Regions from separate parts of the Homo sapiens genome. Here regions 1 and 3 are each linked to region 2. Evidence: promoter capture Hi-C in human tissues and cell types (Jung and others, 2019). All regions are on one chromosome and are shown on one strand. The core of a region is centred on a gene start or on the middle of the fragment in contact, and the rest is flanking DNA. Distances in the headings are between cores, read along the strand shown. Region 1 overlaps MAPK3 (mitogen-activated protein kinase 3). Region 2 holds the start of ZNF768 (zinc finger protein 768). Region 3 overlaps FBXL19 (F-box and leucine rich repeat protein 19).

Region 1 (4,255 bases), core at 154-2,653, 410 kb after region 2:
GCAGGTTGGCAGATCTATTGAGTCCCAGGGGCCCTGGCTGGAGGAGGTGTGCAGCCTCGCCTTCAGAGCCTGTTTTCCTTAACCAAGTGCCTCCCACTGCCCCCTGCCTGGGGGGGTCTGCGGAACCATCCTCAGCTACATTGTGCAGGACCTGATGGAGACTGACCTGTACAAGTTGCTGAAAAGCCAGCAGCTGAGCAATGACCATATCTGCTACTTCCTCTACCAGATCCTGCGGGGCCTCAAGTACATCCACTCCGCCAACGTGCTCCACCGAGATCTAAAGCCCTCCAACCTGCTCATCAACACCACCTGCGACCTTAAGGTCAGAGGGTTGGGCACCTGTCCCCTCCTCCCCCAGGGTCTGGGGCTTCCAGTGACCAGTAGAAGAAGCCTTGGGCAGGAGAACATTGCAAGCAAAGGGAACAGTGGAGGCAAAGACAAGGGGGCGTGACTGCTTAGGCTGCAGAGGCCTTGAGCGCCGAGCTTAGCAGCTAGGTCTGATTCCAGATTTGTGATTTCGGCCTGGCCCGGATTGCCGATCCTGAGCATGACCACACCGGCTTCCTGACGGAGTATGTGGCTACGCGCTGGTACCGGGCCCCAGAGATCATGCTGAACTCCAAGGTAGGAGGGGCTGCCCACTCCTGAAAGGAACGGACCAGTTCCCAGGAAGCCCTGGAGCTACCTCTGAGCCAGACACTGACCCCCATGACACAGGAATTCTACCCTCTGGGCCTTGGGCTCTGCAAGGAAGCTGAGCATTGAGCCCTCCAGGCCTCTGCCTTCTGCCTGGTGTTGGATCTAACTTGGAGGTGGTGGCCTGGCGCAGACAACAGGACCCTGTTGAGGCTGGCCCAGGAGCTCACCACTTCCTCCTCTCCCCCAGGGCTATACCAAGTCCATCGACATCTGGTCTGTGGGCTGCATTCTGGCTGAGATGCTCTCTAACCGGCCCATCTTCCCTGGCAAGCACTACCTGGATCAGCTCAACCACATTCTGGGTGAGGGAGGCCCGGCTGGCTGAGTTGGGGATGATTAGCTTTTCCGAGGTGAGATTTCTCGAGAGTCCAAGTCAGGGATACCACCACGTGTGGGGTGCCTCCAGCATCTCATGGTATCTCAATGAGGTATAGATATTATCCCCATTGGATAGATGGGAAAAGCAAGGCTAAGTCCCACACCTGAGGAGGCACCAGACCTAGGATTTGAGCCTCGGTCTGCCTGAACCCAGCCCCCTTGCTCTGCACCACCATGCTAATGACTAGGAGGTGACTGAGGGATTGGCATGGGTTGCTGGGCTGGGGGGTCTTGTTCTTGCCTTGTTGCCTATTCTGTTCCCAGAAAGAAAGAGGTGATCATTTACCAAGTCACCTCCTTATCCACAGGCATCCTGGGCTCCCCATCCCAGGAGGACCTGAATTGTATCATCAACATGAAGGCCCGAAACTACCTACAGTCTCTGCCCTCCAAGACCAAGGTGGCTTGGGCCAAGCTTTTCCCCAAGTCAGACTCCAAAGGTTCGAGAGACATGAGGGTGGGTGTGGGATAAACCTTGGGTGTCGTGGAGGGTGTGTGAGCCCAGCAGCCGCTGGAGGAGACAGGCAAAGCAATGCTTCTCGGAGCTCCTCCAGTCTTCCCTGTGACCCCTGACTCCTGCCCTTCCATAGCCCTTGACCTGCTGGACCGGATGTTAACCTTTAACCCCAATAAACGGATCACAGTGGAGGAAGCGCTGGCTCACCCCTACCTGGAGCAGTACTATGACCCGACGGATGAGGTGGGCCAGTCCCCAGCAGCAGTGGGGCTGGGGGCAGGGGAGCAGGGGGGCACGTAGGCATCCCCCATGCCAGGCCTGAGCCTTGCTGTCTCTACCACCCCAGCCAGTGGCCGAGGAGCCCTTCACCTTCGCCATGGAGCTGGATGACCTACCTAAGGAGCGGCTGAAGGAGCTCATCTTCCAGGAGACAGCACGCTTCCAGCCCGGAGTGCTGGAGGCCCCCTAGCCCAGACAGACATCTCTGCACCCTGGGGCCTGGTGAGTGTCTCCATGGCCCACACATGGACACCCTGATACTAAATATCTATATCTGTATATCTATATCTATATCTATCTGTACATGCCTCCATACAGCAGCAAGCTTACCCCACACCCATGGTCAATGTGTCTGGTGACAACAGAAGTGCCCAGGGGGCTGGGTGTGGTGGCTCATGCCTGGAATCCCAGCACTTTGGGAGACTGAGACTGAGAGGAGTGGATCACCTGAGGGTCAGGAGTTTGAGACCAGCCTGGCCTGCATGGTGAAATCCCATCTATACTAAAAATACAAAAATTAGCCGGGCACAGTGGGTCACTCTGGTAATCCCAGCACTTTGGGAGGCTGAGGCAAGTGGATCACCTGAGGTCAGGAGTCCGAGACCAGCCTGCCTGGCCAACGTGGTGAAACCCTGTCTCTACTAAAAATACAAAAATTAGCCGGGCACGTAGGCATGCGCTTCTAGTCCCAGCTACTCAGGAGGCTGTGGTGGGAGGACTGCTTGAACCTGGGAGGCGGAGGTTGCACCACTGTACTCCAGCCTGGGCAACAGTGAGACTCTCTCAAAAAAAAAAAAAAAAGGGCTGGGCACAGTGGCTCATGCCTGTAATCCCAGCACTTTGGGAGGCCGAGGTGGGTGGATCACAAGGTCAAGAGTTGAGACCAGCCTGGCCAACATGGTGAAACCCGGTCTCTACTGTAAAGAATACAAAAATGAGCTGGGTGTGGTGGCACATGCCTATAATCCCAGCTACTCAGGAGGCTGAGGCAGGAGAATTGCTTGAACCCAGGAGGCAGAGGTTGCAGTGAGCCGAGATCGCACCACTGCACTCCAGCCTGGACTACAGAGCAAGACTCCATCTCAAAAAAAAAAAAAAAAATGCCCAAGGCTGCCCAGACTGGTGGCCCACCGAGTCCTCCAGCCCCAAATGTCTCTGCCTGTCAACACCTTGCATCCTCCAGCCCCACAAGCCATTCTAATCTCCTTCTAGGAACAGAACTGGCAAAGAGGCAAGAGGTCACTGAGGGCCTCTGTCACCCAGGTGAGGACCTGAGCCAAGCTTCAGCTCTGGGTGTGGCAGAAGCAGGTGGGGCCATGATTGCTTTGGGAGGGGCCCAGCAGCGCCCAGCCTGACCCAGATTGCCAGGCCTCCTCACACCTGCTGCCAGATCAGCAGTTCACATAGCTGTGGGGACCCCACTGGCCTGCCCCCACCCACGCTGCCTCCTTGCCTCCTCCGGTCTCTTCCTGTCTTCAGCCAGGTGTGGCCTGATAGAAAGAAGGCATGCGCACCTGGGCTCAAACTCCAGCTGTGCCACTTAGTAAGTGCTGTGTGATATTGGGCAAGGCACCTCACCTCTCGGCGCCTCAGTTTCCGGAGTCAATCTATTTATCTTTTTTTTTGGTTTTGTTTTTTTGAGACAGTGTCTCGCTCTGTCACCCAGGCTGGAATGCAGTGGTGCAATCATAGCTCACTGCAGCCTCAAAACTCCTGGGTGCAAGGGATCCTCCCAGCTAGCTGGACGAGCCATTGCAACCGGCTAATTTTTTTTTTTTTTTTTTGTGGAGCTGGGGTCTTGCTATGTTGCCCAGGCCAGTCTCAAACTCCTGGGCTCAAGCGATCCACCACCTCAGCTTCTCAAAGTGCTGGGATTATAGGCGTGAGCCACTGTGCCCGGCCGAGACAGTTCTAATAATGAAAGCATAAAGCCCTAAGCATTGTTCTAAGAGGTTTACATGTATTAATTCCTTTAATCTTACAGCAGTACCTCAAGCTAGGTACTATTATTATCTCCATTTACAGATAAGGAAACTGAGACCCAGCCTATCCAGCTGTGAGGGTGAAATGAGAGATGTTGAGGTCAGGGCTCCAGTGGGTCTGCCCGGGGGGTGCTAACGACTCCTCTTCTGCCTGCTTCTCTCTTTAGGACCTGCCTCCTGCCTGCCCCTCTCCCGCCAGACTGTTAGAAAATGGACACTGTGCCCAGCCCGGACCTTGGCAGCCCAGGCCGGGGTGGAGCATGGGCCTGGCCACCTCTCTCCTTTGCTGAGGCCTCCAGCTTCAGGCAGGCCAAGGCCTTCTCCTCCCCACCCGCCCTCCCCACGGGGCCTCGGGACCTCAGGTGGCCCCAGTTCAATCTCCCGCTGCTGCTGCTGCGCCCTTACCTTCCCCAGCGTCCCAGTCTCTGGCAGTTCTGGAATGGAAGGGTTCTGGCTG
Region 2 (3,760 bases), core at 711-3,210:
CTAGAGTGCAGTGGCGAGATCTCGGCTTACTGCAACCTCCGCCTCCCGGGTTCAAGTGATTCTCCTGCCTCAGCCTCCCAAGTAGCTGGGATTACAGGTGCCCACCACCGTGCCTGGCTAATTTTTGTATTTTTTTAGTAGAGACGGGGTTTCACCATCTTGGCCAGGCTGGTCTTGAACTCCTGACCTCGTGATCCACCTGCCTTGGCCTCCCAAAAGTGCTGGGATTACAGACATGAGCCAGTGCGCCCCACCTGTAAGCCTTTATTTAGATAGTTTCTCTCCACTTTTTACCACTTGGCATTCTTCAAGTTCTTGTTCTCACCTCTTTTCAGGAAGGAGAGGCCATCCTTCCTCCCAAACATTCTCTTCCCTTCATTTGTCTGGGTAGGCGACAAGAAAACACGATCCATGGCTCCTGCTCACACAGGGGCATCGGGCTCGTTAACTGTCAAGAACGCTGCCAAACTTGTTTCAGCACGAAGCGTAGAAAAAAAAGACAAGAACTGGATGATATTAAGTTGTCTGTCCAGGCTCACTTCCTCAATTCAAAGCTGCGCCCGAGGCAGTGTTTCTCAGGTTCCCTTCCTCTGCAAGACTCCATTCGAGTCAGACAAGACTGGAGAGTTGTTAGATGCCTCGAAGGCCAGATGGTTCTCTCAGTCCAATTCTCCTTTGTATCACCCTCACCTGGAAGGAATCCTGCCTCCCTGTGAGGAAATCTAACAACAGGGACTAAGGCTGCCAGGGATTGAGTTAAACTCAGGCGCTGGGGAAGGTGGAGGGGAGAGGCAAGGGGTGTGAGGCTGACGAGGAGGAAGGGTGTCTGTCCTCAGATCTTCTGGCTTTCATAAAACATAATGGAGGCTAAGTGGGGGCGGGAAAAGTTTTGATGGCACAGGCCGGGCTGGAGGGGAGATGCCTGGCACCTCCCTCCCACTACCTCCTGAAGGCGCTTCTGGCCGACAGGGGAGGCGGACCCGACCACAGCACTCCCGGCCAATCAGGAAGGCGCCTGGCGTTCCCTGGCGACCATTAACGCCCAGCCGTCCGCGGGGTTGGAGGAGGCGGGGCGGCTAGAGCACGAGCCCCATCGGCCAACCGCCGGGCTTCCTGGGGCGGAGAAGCTGTGCCTCTGGGAGCCGGGGCGGGGCTGTCTCCTTGGCAACTATCCTAGCCCTCGAGGAGGGAGGAGGGAGGAGGAGGATCAGGGGAGCCGAGCTGGGTGGGGGCCGGAGGAACGGGAGCGGGCGCGCGCAGGTGCCGGGGAGCGGAGTTCCTGGAGGGGGTCCCAGGCTCAAGGACCTCGGCGAGGCCAAGGGGAGTCCGTCCCGGTTCCCGAGGCGCTGCCGGAGCTGACCCGGAGGCCCGGGAGGGGAGGGAGCGAGACACCGCCCCCGCTGGCGCCGGGAAGCGTCGCTCCTTCTCGCTGACCTTGGTCTCGCTTGTCGCCTCGCCCTTGGCCACACGCACCGACGACGCGGGGCCCGGGAGATGGACAGACGGGCCTCTGGAGGGACGGAGACCTAGAACATAGGCACACACACTGCCCCGGTAGCCCCGCGGGCTCCGGGGCGTCCGGTCCTCACCCACCCCGTGGCCGGGCCCCTCCAGCCCAGGGTTAATGCCAACGAGTTTCCACCTCCAGCGGCTCCTAGAGAGGCCGCGGCGCGAGCCGGCGGGGGGACCTGGCCGCGGACGGACACTTCCTGTGCGGGGGAGGGTGGGGGGGTGCTGGGCGGCCGTTGGACAGTGCAGCCCAGCCCGGGGCCGGGGTCCAGAAGGTGGGGGCTCGGGCGGGAGCGGGGGCCGGGGGCCGCCGGGGTAGTCGCGAAGCCCCTCATCCCCGAGGCCGCGACGCGCGGGGGCCAGTGAGGGCCACGGGGAGGCCGAGACCTTGGGAGGGGGCGGGGCCGCGGGCAGGGGAGGGGCCCGGCGCGCTGGAGAGGCGCGGGGTCAAGACGTCCGGCCTCGGGGGCCCGGGCTGGGCCGCCGAGTCCCCTGGGCGGCGCTGAGCGGGCGGGAGGCGGGGGCCCGCGGCTCGGGGCAACCGAGGCCGGGTCGCGGGATCGGCCGCCATCGCCGCCGCCGCTGCACTGGGAGCCCGCGGGGATGGAGCGGGAGGCGTTGCCGTGGGGCCTCGAGCCCCAGGATGTGCAGAGTTCTGACGAAATGAGGAGCCCCGAAGGGTACCTCAGAGGTGAGGAGGGAGCGCCCGTCCGAGGAGTGGACTTGCGCGCAGGAGAAGGGGCTGTGGCTCCAGGGAGGGAGCGAGGGCCCGGGGCTGGGACACCTGGGACTCGAAGGAGGGGCCGGCGGGGACTGGGGTGTCTTGGGTCAGCTGAGGGGGGCGTGGGAATTTCAGCACTTGTCTAGGGGCCAGCGACCCTGCATGTGAGGTGGGAGGTGTGTGGTTGCTAATGGACCAAATGACCTTCCAGGTCTCACACGATCTGGATTCTCTCATCCTGCAGGCAACATGAGTGAGAATGAGGAAGAGGAAATTTCTCAGCAAGAAGGCAGTGGGGACTATGAAGTCGAAGAGATACCATTTGGGCTTGAACCCCAGAGCCCTGGGTTTGAGCCACAAAGCCCAGAGTTTGAACCCCAAAGCCCCAGATTTGAGCCTGAAAGCCCGGGGTTTGAGTCCCGAAGCCCTGGGCTTGTGCCCCCAAGCCCTGAGTTTGCACCCAGAAGCCCTGAATCAGATTCTCAGAGCCCTGAGTTTGAATCCCAGAGCCCTAGGTATGAACCCCAAAGCCCTGGCTATGAACCTCGGAGCCCCGGGTATGAACCCCGGAGCCCTGGCTATGAATCTGAGAGCTCTAGATATGAATCCCAGAACACTGAGCTCAAAACCCAAAGCCCAGAATTTGAAGCTCAAAGTTCCAAATTCCAGGAAGGTGCGGAGATGCTTCTGAACCCCGAGGAAAAGAGTCCTTTGAATATCTCCGTAGGAGTTCACCCCCTGGACTCCTTCACTCAGGGGTTTGGGGAGCAGCCCACAGGGGACCTGCCCATAGGGCCACCTTTTGAGATGCCCACAGGGGCCCTGCTGTCTACACCGCAGTTTGAGATGCTTCAGAATCCCCTGGGTCTCACAGGAGCCCTTCGAGGTCCAGGTCGGCGGGGTGGCCGGGCCAGGGGTGGGCAGGGCCCTCGGCCTAACATCTGTGGCATCTGCGGGAAGAGCTTCGGGCGGGGCTCCACCCTGATCCAGCACCAGCGCATCCACACCGGTGAGAAGCCCTACAAATGTGAGGTCTGCAGCAAGGCCTTCTCCCAGAGCTCTGACCTCATCAAACACCAGCGCACCCACACTGGCGAGCGGCCCTACAAATGTCCCCGTTGCGGCAAGGCCTTCGCCGACAGCTCTTACCTGCTTCGCCACCAGCGCACTCACTCTGGCCAGAAGCCCTACAAGTGCCCACATTGTGGCAAGGCCTTCGGCGACAGCTCCTACCTCCTGCGACACCAGCGCACCCACAGCCACGAGCGGCCCTACAGCTGCACCGAGTGCGGCAAGTGCTATAGCCAGAACTCGTCCCTGCGCAGCCATCAGAGGGTGCACACCGGTCAGAGGCCCTTCAGCTGTGGCATCTGCGGCAAGAGCTTCTCCCAGCGGTCGGCCCTTATCCCCCATGCCCGCAGCCACGCCCGGGAGAAGCCCTTCAAGTGCCCTGAGTGCGGCAAGCGCTTTGGCCAGAGCTCGGTGCTGGCCATCCACGCCCGCACCCACCTGCCAGGCCGCACCTACAGC
Region 3 (4,026 bases), core at 824-3,323, 420 kb before region 2:
AAACCCTGTTTCTATAAGAATTACAGGCCGGGTGCGGTGGCTAACACCTGTAATCCCAGCACTTTGGGAGGCCGAGGCAGGCGGATCATGAGGTCAGGAGATCAAGACCATCCTGGCTAACACAGTGAAACCCCGTCTCTACTAAAAATACAAAAAATTAGCCAGGCGTGGTGGCGGGCGCCTGTAGTCCCAGCTACTTGGGAGGCTGAGGCAGGAGAATGGCGTGAACCCGGGAGGTGGAGCTTGCAGTGATCCGAGATAGCACCACTGCACTCCAGCCTGGGCGACAGAGCAAGACTTCACCTCAAAAAAAAAAAAAAAAAAAAAAAAATTACAAAAAAATTAGCCAGGCGTGGTGGCACACGCCTGTAGGCCCAGCTACTCAGGAGGCTGAGGTGGGGAGGATCACTTGAACCCAGGAGGCATAAGTTGCAGTAAGCCGAGATCTTGCCACTGCACTCCAGTCTGGGTGACAGAGCCAGATGGTCTCAAAAAACAAAAACAAACAAAAGGATTATCTTATTTCAGGGGACTGCAAATCTCCTTTTGAAAATCTTTCCTCAAACTAGACCTCTCCCATCCTGATTGCTCATTCAAGTTATTCATTCAACAGCTATCTATGGAGCAGCCACTGAGAACGTGCTGGGGGACCAGCCAGCGCTTGCCCTCAGGGAGCTGGAGACCCTGGCAGGAGGGCACAGATGTGCATCAAGGCACTCCACAATTGCCCAGTATTATGCTGGCGGGCTGCTCTCAAAGCTGAGAGGGACTCTGAGCTCAATGTGGGGTGGGATCAGGGAGAGCTTCTTGGAGGAAGTGGCATTTATACCCAGGCCTAAAGGATGATGAGATTTAAGTAGATGAAGAGAGATGGCCTCTGCTCCCAGCATCCCCCTCTGCCAATATGGGCCTCCTGCCCCACCAAACTGCTGAGTCTCACACTCCCTGGGAAAACCCTGTTCCTTTCAAGACTCAGTTCAAAGTACACAGCAGGTGGGTGAATGAATGAATAATGCCCAACCAGGGCCTTCCTATTCAAACTCATGTATTCTTTCCTTTCTTCAAATACTTTACCATCCAGCATGAGTCAGAAGAGACCTGAGAGGCCTCCTACCCTACCCTTGCCCAGCCCATTCTCCAGAAAAGCAAACAGAGGTTGCACCTGGTTTGGTGTCTGGTGGAGGCAGCAGCAACTCCCGGAGCTGGGAGTCTTTAACATCCTCGATCCAGCGGAGGTCCAGGAGCCGCAGGGCTGGCAGTGGGGCTGAGCCCAGGGCAGAGACAGAGAGCCAGGAGCAGCCAGAGAGCACCAGCTCCTGCAGGCCTGCGGAGAGGGGGCAGTCAGGAAGCAGGTGCTGTGAGGACTCCATCCCAGGCCTGTCCCTGTCCCCACCCTGTCCTCCGTACCACACACCCTACCTTGTAGTCGGTTCAGAAGCCACATGAGCTGCTTCTTGGAGACACCTGTCCAGCTGAGGTCCAGGGCACGGGGCTGGCGGCGAACCACACCACTGAGCATGGGCGGGGTCAGTGACTTCCGCCGGCTCAGGTCCATTCGAGGCCACAGACGCTTGTCATAGCACCTGGCGGCCATAGGGGGGAGACAGAGACCTCAGCCCTCAGCTCTCAGCAGCCCACAGTTCCCAGGCTCCCCAGCTCCAAGGGTGCACCCCAGCTCTCTTCTGGCCACACAGACAACAGGGTAGCAAGAAGCACCTGACCTCAGCCAAGAGCACTGGGATTGGAACCCAACTCCATCACTAACTGGAAATGAGACCCTGGGCAAGTCTGTTCCTCTCCCTGAGCCTCAGAAGCCTCGTTTATGATTGAAGGCAATAGCCCCCCCACTCTGCCTGCCCACAGGGCAGCTGTCAGGTCACATGGGCTCATCCCAGCTGTGGGCCTCCCAGCATAGAAAGTGTGCTGCCCAACACATACACAAATGCCACGCATGCTGCCTGATGTCATGCCAAGGGGACTGGTGTTATCCAGTCGTCTCCAGCCACCCTTGGGCTTCTTGATTCCTGACTGAGTTCTGGTGCTCATGGGTCCTTGCCTCCTTTACTCATCTCTGCTTCTGATCCACACCTGTCCCATCTTGACAGCCAGCTGCCCGCAGCTGGACTTACAGCCCTAATATCTTCCCTATTACATTACTGTGTTCCTCCAACTACAATGTAAATTCCACAAGGGCAGATTTGCGTTTTCCACTTTTTGAAAAAAAATTTTTTTTGAGACAGGGTCTCACTCTGTAACCCAGGCTGGACTCAGGCTCACCGCAGCCTCAACCTACTGGGCTCAAGCAATCCTCCCACCTCAGCCTCCTGAGTAGCTGGGACCACAGGCACATGTCACCACGCCTGGCTAATTTTTAAACAATTTTTTTGTAGAGACAGGGTCTCACTATGTTGCCTAGGCTGGTCTTGATCTCCTGGCCTCAAGCGATCCTCCTGCCTTGGCCTCCCAAAACACTGGGATTACAGGCATGAGCTACTGCACCCAGCTGCCCATTTGTAATGAATGAATCAAGCTAGTAACTACTTAAAGCTTCCACTGACCACTCTCCCCCACCTCCTCATCTACAGCATTTCATTTATTCACTCTGATTATAGAAAGCGTTATAGGTCCCAAGTATTGAAGCTACAAAGATGAACGAGTCCTAAGCAACATTAAACAGGTTTCCTAACCCGAGCACTCCACAGGCCTCAACAGACTATCTAACATGCAGTGGGCTGGGTGCAGTGGCTCACACCTGTAATCCCAGCACTTTGGGAGGCCGAGGTGGGTGGATCATGAGGTCAGGAATTCGAGAACAGCCTGGCTGTTCTACTAGTGAAACCCTGTCTCTACTAAAAGTACAAAAAATTAGCTGGGCATGGTGGCGGGCGCCTGTAATCCTAGCTACTCGGGAGGCTGAGGCAGGAGAATTACTTGAACCCGGGAGGCGGAGATTGCAGCGAGCCGAGATCGCACCACTGCACACCAGCTGGGGCAACAGTGAGAGACTCCATCTCAAAAACAAACAAACAAACAAACAAACAAAAAACATGCAGTGAACTGGAGAAGGGCCTCTCAAACGTACTTCCCCAGGAATCCTTCCCCACCTCTCCCAAGGTAATCTAGTAACATTTTGTAGTACACTGAAGTTCCTTTGGACTCAGTTTGAGAACTCTCTTCTCTGAGTTCAGTAGTTCTCAAAGGCATGTCCAGAAATGCCTCTGAGACTCAATAGACTGTGTCAGAAGCAGCAGGCCCAGGAAGCTTTTTTTTTTTTTTCTTGAGACAGTGTCTTGCTTAGTCACCCAGGCTGGGGTGCAGTACTGCGATCACAGCTCACTGCAACCTTAAACTCCTGGGCTCAAGCCATCCTCCTACCTCAGCCTCCTGAGTAGCTGGGACTACAGGCACATGCCACCACACCTGACTTTTTTTTTTTTTTTGAGACAGAGTTTCGCTCTTGTTGCCCAGGCTGGAGTGCAATGGTGTGATCTTGGCTCACTGAAACCACCATCTCCCAAGTTCAAGCGATTCTCCCGCCTCAGCCTCCAGAGTAGCTGGGATTACAGGCATGCGCCACCACGCCCGGCTAATTTTTTGTATTTTTAGTAGAGATAGGGTTTCTCCATGTTGGCCAGGCTGGTCTCGAAATCCTGACCTCAGGTGATCTGCCCACTTTGGCCTCCCATAGTGCTGGGATTACAGGCGTGAGCCACTGTGCCTGGCCTATTTTTTTATTTTTAGTAGAGACAAGGTTGTCCAGGCTGGTTTTGAACTCCTGAGCTCAAGCGATCCTTCCCTTGGCCTCCCAAGGGAAGCTTTCTCTTGCCTCCCTCCCTGCCCTCATGACTCTGAAAGGCTTTTCCTTGTAGAAGCCCTGGGCTGGGGCAGTGATTCCCAAGCTCCAGTATTTGCTGTTCACTTATCTGCGTAACATGATTTATCTTTGAATCATCTCCTCTTTGCACTTAAAACCAGTATTGTTGCCGGGCGCGGTGGCTCATGCGTGTAATCCCAGCACTTTGGGAG

The links. Contacts are between HindIII fragments. The study calls those that stand out against the background at their distance.
Region 1: a contact is called between a fragment that was not itself captured here and the fragment with the promoter of ZNF768 in region 2, in 1 of the 25 tissues and cell types used here (dorsolateral prefrontal cortex).
Region 3: a fragment that was not itself captured here is called in contact with the fragment with the promoter of ZNF768 in region 2 in 1 of the 25 tissues and cell types used here (pancreas).

What each region holds. Positions count from the first base shown.
Region 1 is chr16:30,114,419-30,118,673 of GRCh38, reverse strand. It overlaps MAPK3 (mitogen-activated protein kinase 3), which reads left to right. Exons shown (of 9, transcript NM_002746.3): 3 at 136-325; 4 at 511-627; 5 at 890-1,004; 6 at 1,389-1,520; 7 at 1,671-1,780; 8 at 1,884-2,038; 9 at 3,966-4,255. The coding sequence ends at 2,006. Among named protein-coding and RNA genes, the nearest start is that of GDPD3, 3.0 kb to the right of the region's middle. The HindIII fragment of the contact is 2,432 bases long and covers 188-2,619 here.
Region 2 is chr16:30,524,766-30,528,525 of GRCh38, reverse strand. ZNF768 (zinc finger protein 768) reads left to right here and starts at 1,960. Exons shown (of 2, transcript NM_024671.4): 1 at 1,960-2,200; 2 at 2,475-3,760. The coding sequence starts at 2,113. RefSeq lists enhancers at 575-874, 2,455-2,514 and silencers at 945-1,774, 1,865-2,184, 2,205-2,254. The HindIII fragment of the contact is 23,531 bases long and covers 1-3,760 here.
Region 3 is chr16:30,939,673-30,943,698 of GRCh38, reverse strand. It overlaps FBXL19 (F-box and leucine rich repeat protein 19), which reads right to left. Exons shown (of 11, transcript NM_001382779.1): 8 at 1,420-1,583; 9 at 1,163-1,324. Among named protein-coding and RNA genes, the nearest start is that of ORAI3, 7.4 kb to the left of the region's middle. RefSeq lists an enhancer at 193-1,135 and a silencer at 1,560-1,689. The HindIII fragment of the contact is 5,049 bases long and covers 1-4,026 here.